Regions from separate parts of the Homo sapiens genome. Here region 2 is linked to region 1. The links are contacts of gene promoters, found by promoter capture Hi-C in human tissues and cell types (Jung and others, 2019). All regions are on one chromosome and are shown on one strand. Each heading gives the region's core, a stretch centred on a gene start or on the middle of the fragment in contact. The rest is flanking DNA. Distances are from core to core; before and after follow the strand shown.

The links. The method cuts DNA at HindIII sites, captures the fragments that hold promoters and counts their contacts. A contact is called where the count stands out against the background at its distance.
Region 2: a contact is called between a fragment that was not itself captured here and the fragment with the promoter of NDRG1 in region 1, in 3 of the 25 tissues and cell types used here (bladder, hippocampus and mesenchymal stem cells).

What each region holds. Positions count from the first base shown.
Region 1 is chr8:133,295,140-133,298,660 of GRCh38, forward strand. NDRG1 (N-myc downstream regulated 1) reads right to left here and starts at 2,113. Exons shown (of 16, transcript NM_006096.4): 1 at 1,995-2,113. RefSeq lists a silencer at 1,994-2,443. The HindIII fragment of the contact is 13,971 bases long and covers 1-3,521 here.
Region 2 is chr8:132,782,350-132,785,981 of GRCh38, forward strand. The region is part of intron 2 of PHF20L1 (PHD finger protein 20 like 1); the gene reads left to right. Among named protein-coding and RNA genes, the nearest start is that of PHF20L1, 8.8 kb to the left of the region's middle. The HindIII fragment of the contact is 4,511 bases long and covers 1-3,632 here.

The sequences.
Region 1 (3,521 bases), core at 863-3,362:
GCAAAAGCCAACACCTCCACCCATGCACAGTCTATTACCTCGCCCGAAACTCAACCTGCTGGTTCACAGGAGAATGGGGCAGAAGACCCAGAGCCATCCACTTCATCCCATGTGCATATTTCAACTCCTCCCACCTGCCAGGCGCTGGGCCAGGGGCCAGGTTACAGGGCAGGGCAGGCAAATCCTCCTCCTTGCCCAGATGCAGTGGGAGACACGGTCCCACAAAGCTAAGAAGTCACAGGTCAGGGGAACACCCAGTTTTCCATCCACACCAAAACCCTCTCTCTCCCTTACACCTTCCTTCATCCCCGACACTGTGCCACCCCAGCCTGGGGCTGGCTCTGCCGCCACACACACCACACAGAACCGGTCTGCGTCTCCAGCCGTGTGTCTTCCCCACCAGAAGGCAGCCCTTCCAAGAAAGGCGCTGGGGTTTGCCCCCTCTGTACCTTGCTTATTTCAATCACATTTGTGAAACTCAATAAGAACGCCAGAATTTCTCAACAGGAAGAGTCTAGACTGAAAAATTCGCCTTGAAACTACATTTCTGCAGCAAGAACAGGGGGTTTGTATTTAGATATGTTCTTTTGAGGCAGCTTAGGAGAAGGTCCCGTGCAGCTGATGGGTATTATAAGGATGTCTACCGCCCTCCTGCCTGGCCACTGGCTGACTTCTGAATATTAGATATTTCCCAGTAGCTTAAAGAAACCAAACAAACTGAAGTGCCCCCAGCGTCCGTGAGGAAGGGGTGTTCTTGGATGGGCATAAGATAACCAAGGGCCCTGCCTCCCCCACCCACTGCCAGGCATCTCCCACTTCCAAGCCACAGAGGCGTGCTGTTCAGGACCCCCAGGGACAGCAGGGACAACAGGCGGGGGATATGGGGGAGGGGTGGGTAAGGAACCGACCCACTAAATCCCAGCTCCAGCTACTAATTTGACAGAGGCGTGACAGCGTGTTTCCCCCAGAACCAGCCGCATTCCCCAAGCCCAGCCCGAAATCTCCTCCCGAGGCTGAATCAGAGACCGCGGCGGATCCCCCAGGAACGTCGAAGTAATTCCAGCTGTTTTCCCCCGTGGAGGGCAGGAGCGGCCAGCACCAGAGGCAGGGGAGGGGAGGAAAGCGGGGGAGGGTGGGCGGAGGCGAAAATGACGCCACTCCTAGCTCCAGCCAGCTCAAGGGGCCGCCAAATGTCCGCGAGACCCCTCTCGCCCAGGTCACTTCTCCCACGCCGCCGATGCGCCAATCCCGGGTTCCTCCGGGGGCGCACCCTGCCCAGTGGCGCTCGCAGACACTTGCTCCGGCTCGCGTGTTGCACTGTGACACACCCTGGACCCTCCCCCCACACACACGCTTACACTCACACATGCACACCGCCCTGTGTGTGCTACGGGACTGAAGCGCCACCAGCCTCTCGGATCCACACCCGTTCCCGACCCAGTCTGCAAGCCAGACACACCCACGCCCCCCTCTCCAGCCTCCTTGCCAGCGCCACTCACCTCTACCAACCCCTCATCTACACACTCGCGCGCAATCTCTCCGTTCCCAGACACAGACACACACACACACACACACACACACACACACACACACTCACCTAGTCCCTTCTGCACCCACGTCCAGCGCGCACCCCTGCCAGCGGCGCCAGCTGGGATTCGGAGACGACGCCAGGAAACGCTATCCTGGTATTTTTTCGGACCGTCTCATCGCCCCCTTCCCGACCTCCAGAACCCCAATCCCCAGCTAGGGGGGAGATGAATGGGACCCTGTCTTTTTTTCCTCCCTTTCCGTAATTGAACCCCCCACTTCAGCGGTGTCTGCACCCAAAGCCCCCTCGCGCCCGCGCCCCGGGGTGACCGCGCACTTGCAGCTCCGGGGCGCTTACTCCTGGAGTACGCGGGGCTACAAAGGGCGGTCCTGGCGCTCCAGCGGCACCGCACGGGCGGCCCCTTTCTGCTCCGCGTCGCGCCTGGGAGAAGAGGGCGCGGGCTTACCTAACGCGAGGGAGAAAGGAAAGGACGGTGCCGAGGCTGGCGGCCCAGCGCCCCGCGGAAGCCGAGGGCGGATGGTGAACTGACGAGCTTCAGCACCAGCTGGGAGCCAGGCGAGGTTTGTTTACGTCCGGGCGGAGGGCGACTTTATAGGCGCCGCGGCCCCGCCCCCGCGCCTCGCCCCTCCCAGACCCTCGCAGTCCCAGCACGCAGCCGGGACACACCCCTTCCCCGCTCCCTGCTCCCTCCTCCCGGGCGCGCCGGGCTGGGCTGGGCTCCGGCAGCGCGCGGCGGGCGCCCACTGGAGCCGCCGCCTGTTGCGCAAGCAGTCGTAGGGGCGCGGCCGGGAGGGGCATCGGGGCCCGGGTTGTGGGTCGGCTCTGCAGTCCCCTCCGAGTCCAGGGCCTCGGCCTGTGCAGCGGGCGCGTGTGCCCTGCCCGGAGGAGGCGTTTGTGTGCTTGTGCGTGTTCATGTGCGCGCTCGTGCGTGTGCATGTGGACTTCCTTGTGTCTCCGTATGGGCGGAGGCCCCCCATCTCTGCCTCAGAGTTTCTTCTAAGAGTCTCGTTGCGCCACGCCCTGAGCGACTCCCTTCACTTCCTGTAGGTCTCACCAGCTCGGCTCTCCAGCCGGATTCGGCTGCCTGCCCAGCAGCCGCCTTCGCTTTCGCCCGACAGGCTCCCTCCGATTCTCAGCCTTCCGTGTCGCCAAAGCTCTCGCTGAAATCCTCGCTCCCGTTTAATCTCGTCCATCTTGCCCACCGCCGCCCAGCGCTTACCCTTCCCCTCATCTTCCCAGTTCTAAGCACACTCACTGGACCTTGCCCACTGGGCTCTTCTCTCCTGCCCCACAAGCCCAGATGAGAGGATTCTCACCCCTTCCTATTCTGATTTCCTGAACTTTCATGACTCACCCTTTCCAACCTTAGCACCGTCCTGCTCTGCTGCTCTGTTTGTGCGTAACTATTGGCCTGCATGTTCCCATCTGGCCAAAGAAACCAGCAATTCTCAACCCCTACTGCATATGAGAAGTCCCAGAGGAGCCGCCAAATTAAAAAATAAATAAATAGATAGATAATAAAAAGAGAGAGATGGACTCCAGAACAGTTTAATCAGAATCTCAGGGGGTGCAAACCAACTGGGCATTGGGGTTTTTACAAAGCTACCCAGGTGGCTCCTGACGTGCAGCCAGGTTGAGAAGCACTGCATGGAGGAACATGATTTTATGAATAAAGGAAGTCTGACTCACAGCTGGCACCGTCATTGTCCTCAGGCCACCTGCCCAGCGTTGAATTTGCCACTGAGCCCAGGACCAGACCCAGGGCAAGCTCAGGTGACCCTCCCTGCGCCTCCACAGACACACACGCGCGCACGCACAACACTTCCTGCTGAATTGTAAACCTCTTTTCTGTGCCAACCCATGCTGTCCCCAAGGCAGGGGCCATGGCTTTCCCCTCTGATTATTAGGGCCAGTTTTGGAGAAGGGTTTTCTGGAACAAAAGAAATATGGAGAGGGGCAAACAGCACCTCTA
Region 2 (3,632 bases), core at 417-2,916, 510 kb before region 1:
TTGGTTTTTAAGGTTCAAATAAAATTATGTATTGCTTTAAGTTCTACAGATGGGTACATAATCATAAAGCATTGAGGTAAATGCAAGGGGAGAGGGAGAATAGAAAAGTAAATCTTTGGGGATCTGAAGAGTTAAGTGATTGAGTTTTTAAAGGTAGCTTTAGTTGACAGGAGAGTGGCTTGGAATCATAGAAGGCAAAACATCTCATTGCAACAAGCTGATGACACTTTTTTCTTTTTCCTTTTTTTTTTGAGACAAAGTTTTACTGTCACCCAGGCTGCAGTGCAGTCACGAGATCATGACTTGAAGCAGCCTGCAGCCTTTACCTCCCGGGGCTCAAGCCATCCTCCTGCTTCAACCTCCCAAGTAGCTGGGACTACAGGCGTATGCCATAGTAACCTGCTGATTTTCTTTTTCTTTTTCTTTTTTTTTTTTTGGTAGAGAAAGCGATCTCTCTGTGTTGCCCAGGCTGGTCTTGAACTCATGGGCTCAAGCAGTTTTTCCATCTGTCTTGTTCTTCCAAAGTTGTAGACAGTCTTTTTGAAGTGATAATAAAATCCTCATGTTTCCACAGAGTTTTATAGAGTTTGCTTGCAAATATTAAAGTATCTAATCATTCTGAATATAGTTTAGTAAGAAAACTGATAAAATCACACTGGCGTTGACTACTGATTTAACTCCTGTTTTTTGATTGAAATTAAAATAGTTATTCTACAGTAAGCGATTGTTACAAAAACACAAGAGATTAAATAACATGCTGTGGTGTTAATCTTAAAATAAATTTGAAATATAGAGTCAATTTAAAACATTCAGATGAGATATGCTCCTCTGACTCTTTTGGAATATTTCTATTTAATTCTCTTCTAAATCTAAAGAAAAGGAAAATGAAAGATTAAAAAATGTGGAGATATCTCCAAGTATCAGAGTTTAATAGAACAGTATAAATTTGAATTGGCAAATGCTGTTTTCACACATTTGAAGTTTTTTGAACTGTATGGAACATTTGCAAATGTGAGTTTTTAAGATGTTCGTGCAGAATTTTAATAGTATAGGAGAATTAAGGAAATTTACATTGTAGCAAGTACAAATACTTGTTAATTTAAATAAAATTATACATTTTCTGAATAAAAAGTTACTTTTTTTCTAATTAGATTTAACTATTCAAAGGAAAATGCTACTAGAGATAAGTTGTGTCATCTATATTTAGAGTAGGAGAATGGTCCTAAAGTGTAACATGTAGATCAAATATAGCATTGTAGGAACACCAGGTGAATACTTCAAAAATAGAGGTTCTTTTGCTAATATTAATATGCATGCAGTTTTTGTCTTTTCATAATTTGGGATTCTTTCAGTTTGTCTATACATAGAAAGTAATGATTATTATTTTGAGTCATTACCTTTGAAAACCAATGCCAGCTGTAGACTTAGAAAAAATATACAGTTGTATGTATACATCAAAATAAATGAATTACATACTATGGTCATAAGTTCATAGAAAACGTATACATGACCTCTAGGTTAAGGACCCTTCTTGCAGACAATTCATTTGAAATCTGTAAGTTTTGTTTAAAAATTCTGAGATAATTTACATTTAGATAGTCACAAATTTTGAATCTTAAGGTCAAAGTGAATCATCCAGTTTAATTATCAAGCAGATTTGTACCAGTGCACAAACATTTTACTTCTTTAACTTTTAAAATTTCCACAAAAGAAAGCCCCGTAAATTCCTTTGAACAATGCTAAATATAAGAAAGCTTCCCTCTACCCCTCCAAAAATGTGAAAAGCATGATTTAGGGACAGAGAAGACTTATTTATTTGAAAACACACCTGGTTTCGGGTTGTTCTTGCTCTAGTGTTCTTCCTTTTTTTATGTTAATTCGTTTTTTATAGAACTCTTTCTGGTTTATAAGCTTTTTCTGCTTATCCTAGTTTTTTTGAAAAACAAAAGTATTGGAAAAAATAAATTAAACTGGAAGTCATAAAATATGGATTTTAAGTGCTATTTTGCCATGAACTATGTGATTTTGGAGAGGTATTTCTCTGCTTTAATGACCTTGAAATGAAAGTCTTACAGTTTAGATGATCTTTCAGGTGCAGTTGAATTCCAAACTCAATTTCATTTTATCAATTTTCACCTATTCAGGGATGACAGATTTTTTTTTTTAAATCATACTTTTAGATGGGTAAATAACACAAACTTGAGGCAGAGGTAAGATAGACAAAAAGTCATAGGTAGTTCAAAACTGCTGGCTACTAGAGGAGAAAATGAGAAAAATGTAGAAAACTGAATATAATTTGGAAAAAATATAGAGGTTTGAGCTATTTGGAATATAACTATATTGGGCATGAAACCTTTTGGCTCCCAATATAGTGATCTCTCCACTATAACCCATTGTCTTGCATAGATTTCCTAAAGCTTTGCGCCTCAGTTAACTAAATGGGCTCAGTGTTCACGGGCCACCGTAGTTTCTGACCAATTGTAGTTGTGAGTATATGTCTGGCATCTAGAAGGGCCCTGAAAGTCTGGCAAGCCTATGCCACTCTTTTTCATTGGAATTAGAGAGCTTGAGCAAGGTAGGTAAATTTCAAGTTTATCCATCCTAGAGAGCTTTCCTCCTAAATTTACTTCATAATCAAACCTCCAAGCTGATGATTTCTTAGCCTCCTTCATCAATTTATAATGAGGGTAAAGTCCAGGAATCTCAGGCTTACTGTGCTGTGCTTTATGTGTGTGTGATCGTATAGTGGCAAGGGTTGGAACAAGAGAAAAGACCGTTTTATTTGCTTATCTGACATTTGGTTGAAGTCCAGCCATCACGTATCACACACATCCAGCTCCCTATTTGTTACATCATTCCTGCCGAATGTTATTATGTATTATGAGATTTCACACTGTCACATCACATTAGATAATGGTTTATTTTTTAGTTGGGGGTTGATGAAAGCCACTAGCTGGGAAACAGTTTATCTGTTGTGGTAGTTAACTCTACTAAAAAGAATGTTTTGCAATTCTAGTTTTGCTGAGTAGACAGAAATGGCATCTGCAGATGCTTCTGTTTTTAATTTTGGTTTTAAGTGATTTCTTTTAAGCTGAGGGAGAAAATACTAGTTTTAATTTTAAGTTTTGAATATCAGTAGTACAATTTTTAAAAGAAATTAACGGAATATTGAAAAGACAGCTTAGTTCTGCTGTTCTTCATTAAGGTCCCAGTTTTTTAGTATTTTTACTGTAACTGTATATTTTGAAGAAGTGTTGACCACTCCCTATCATTTCTTGCTACAGATGGTTAGCACATAAGAATATACTTCTTATTAAATTAGAAATTGGTATGCAAGTATTATGTTATTTCAGTAATTATAATTACCTCAACTTTGAGAGGATTGTTGCAGTAAAGTTGAAGGAAGAGTATAGATATTTACTTAATATTCAGAGTGTCTTGAAAGTCTGTTTTCTTATTGCCAAAAAAGTTACCATGAATTAGAAATAAATTTATTTCTGGTACATCATGATTAGCTAGGGTACTGAAGTATAAGCTACTTATATGAAATGGTGTATCTACAAGGCCTTAACATAGTAACTTACTCATAAAAGGTGCCCAGCAAAGTTTACTGAATTTTGTTGGGTTTAAAA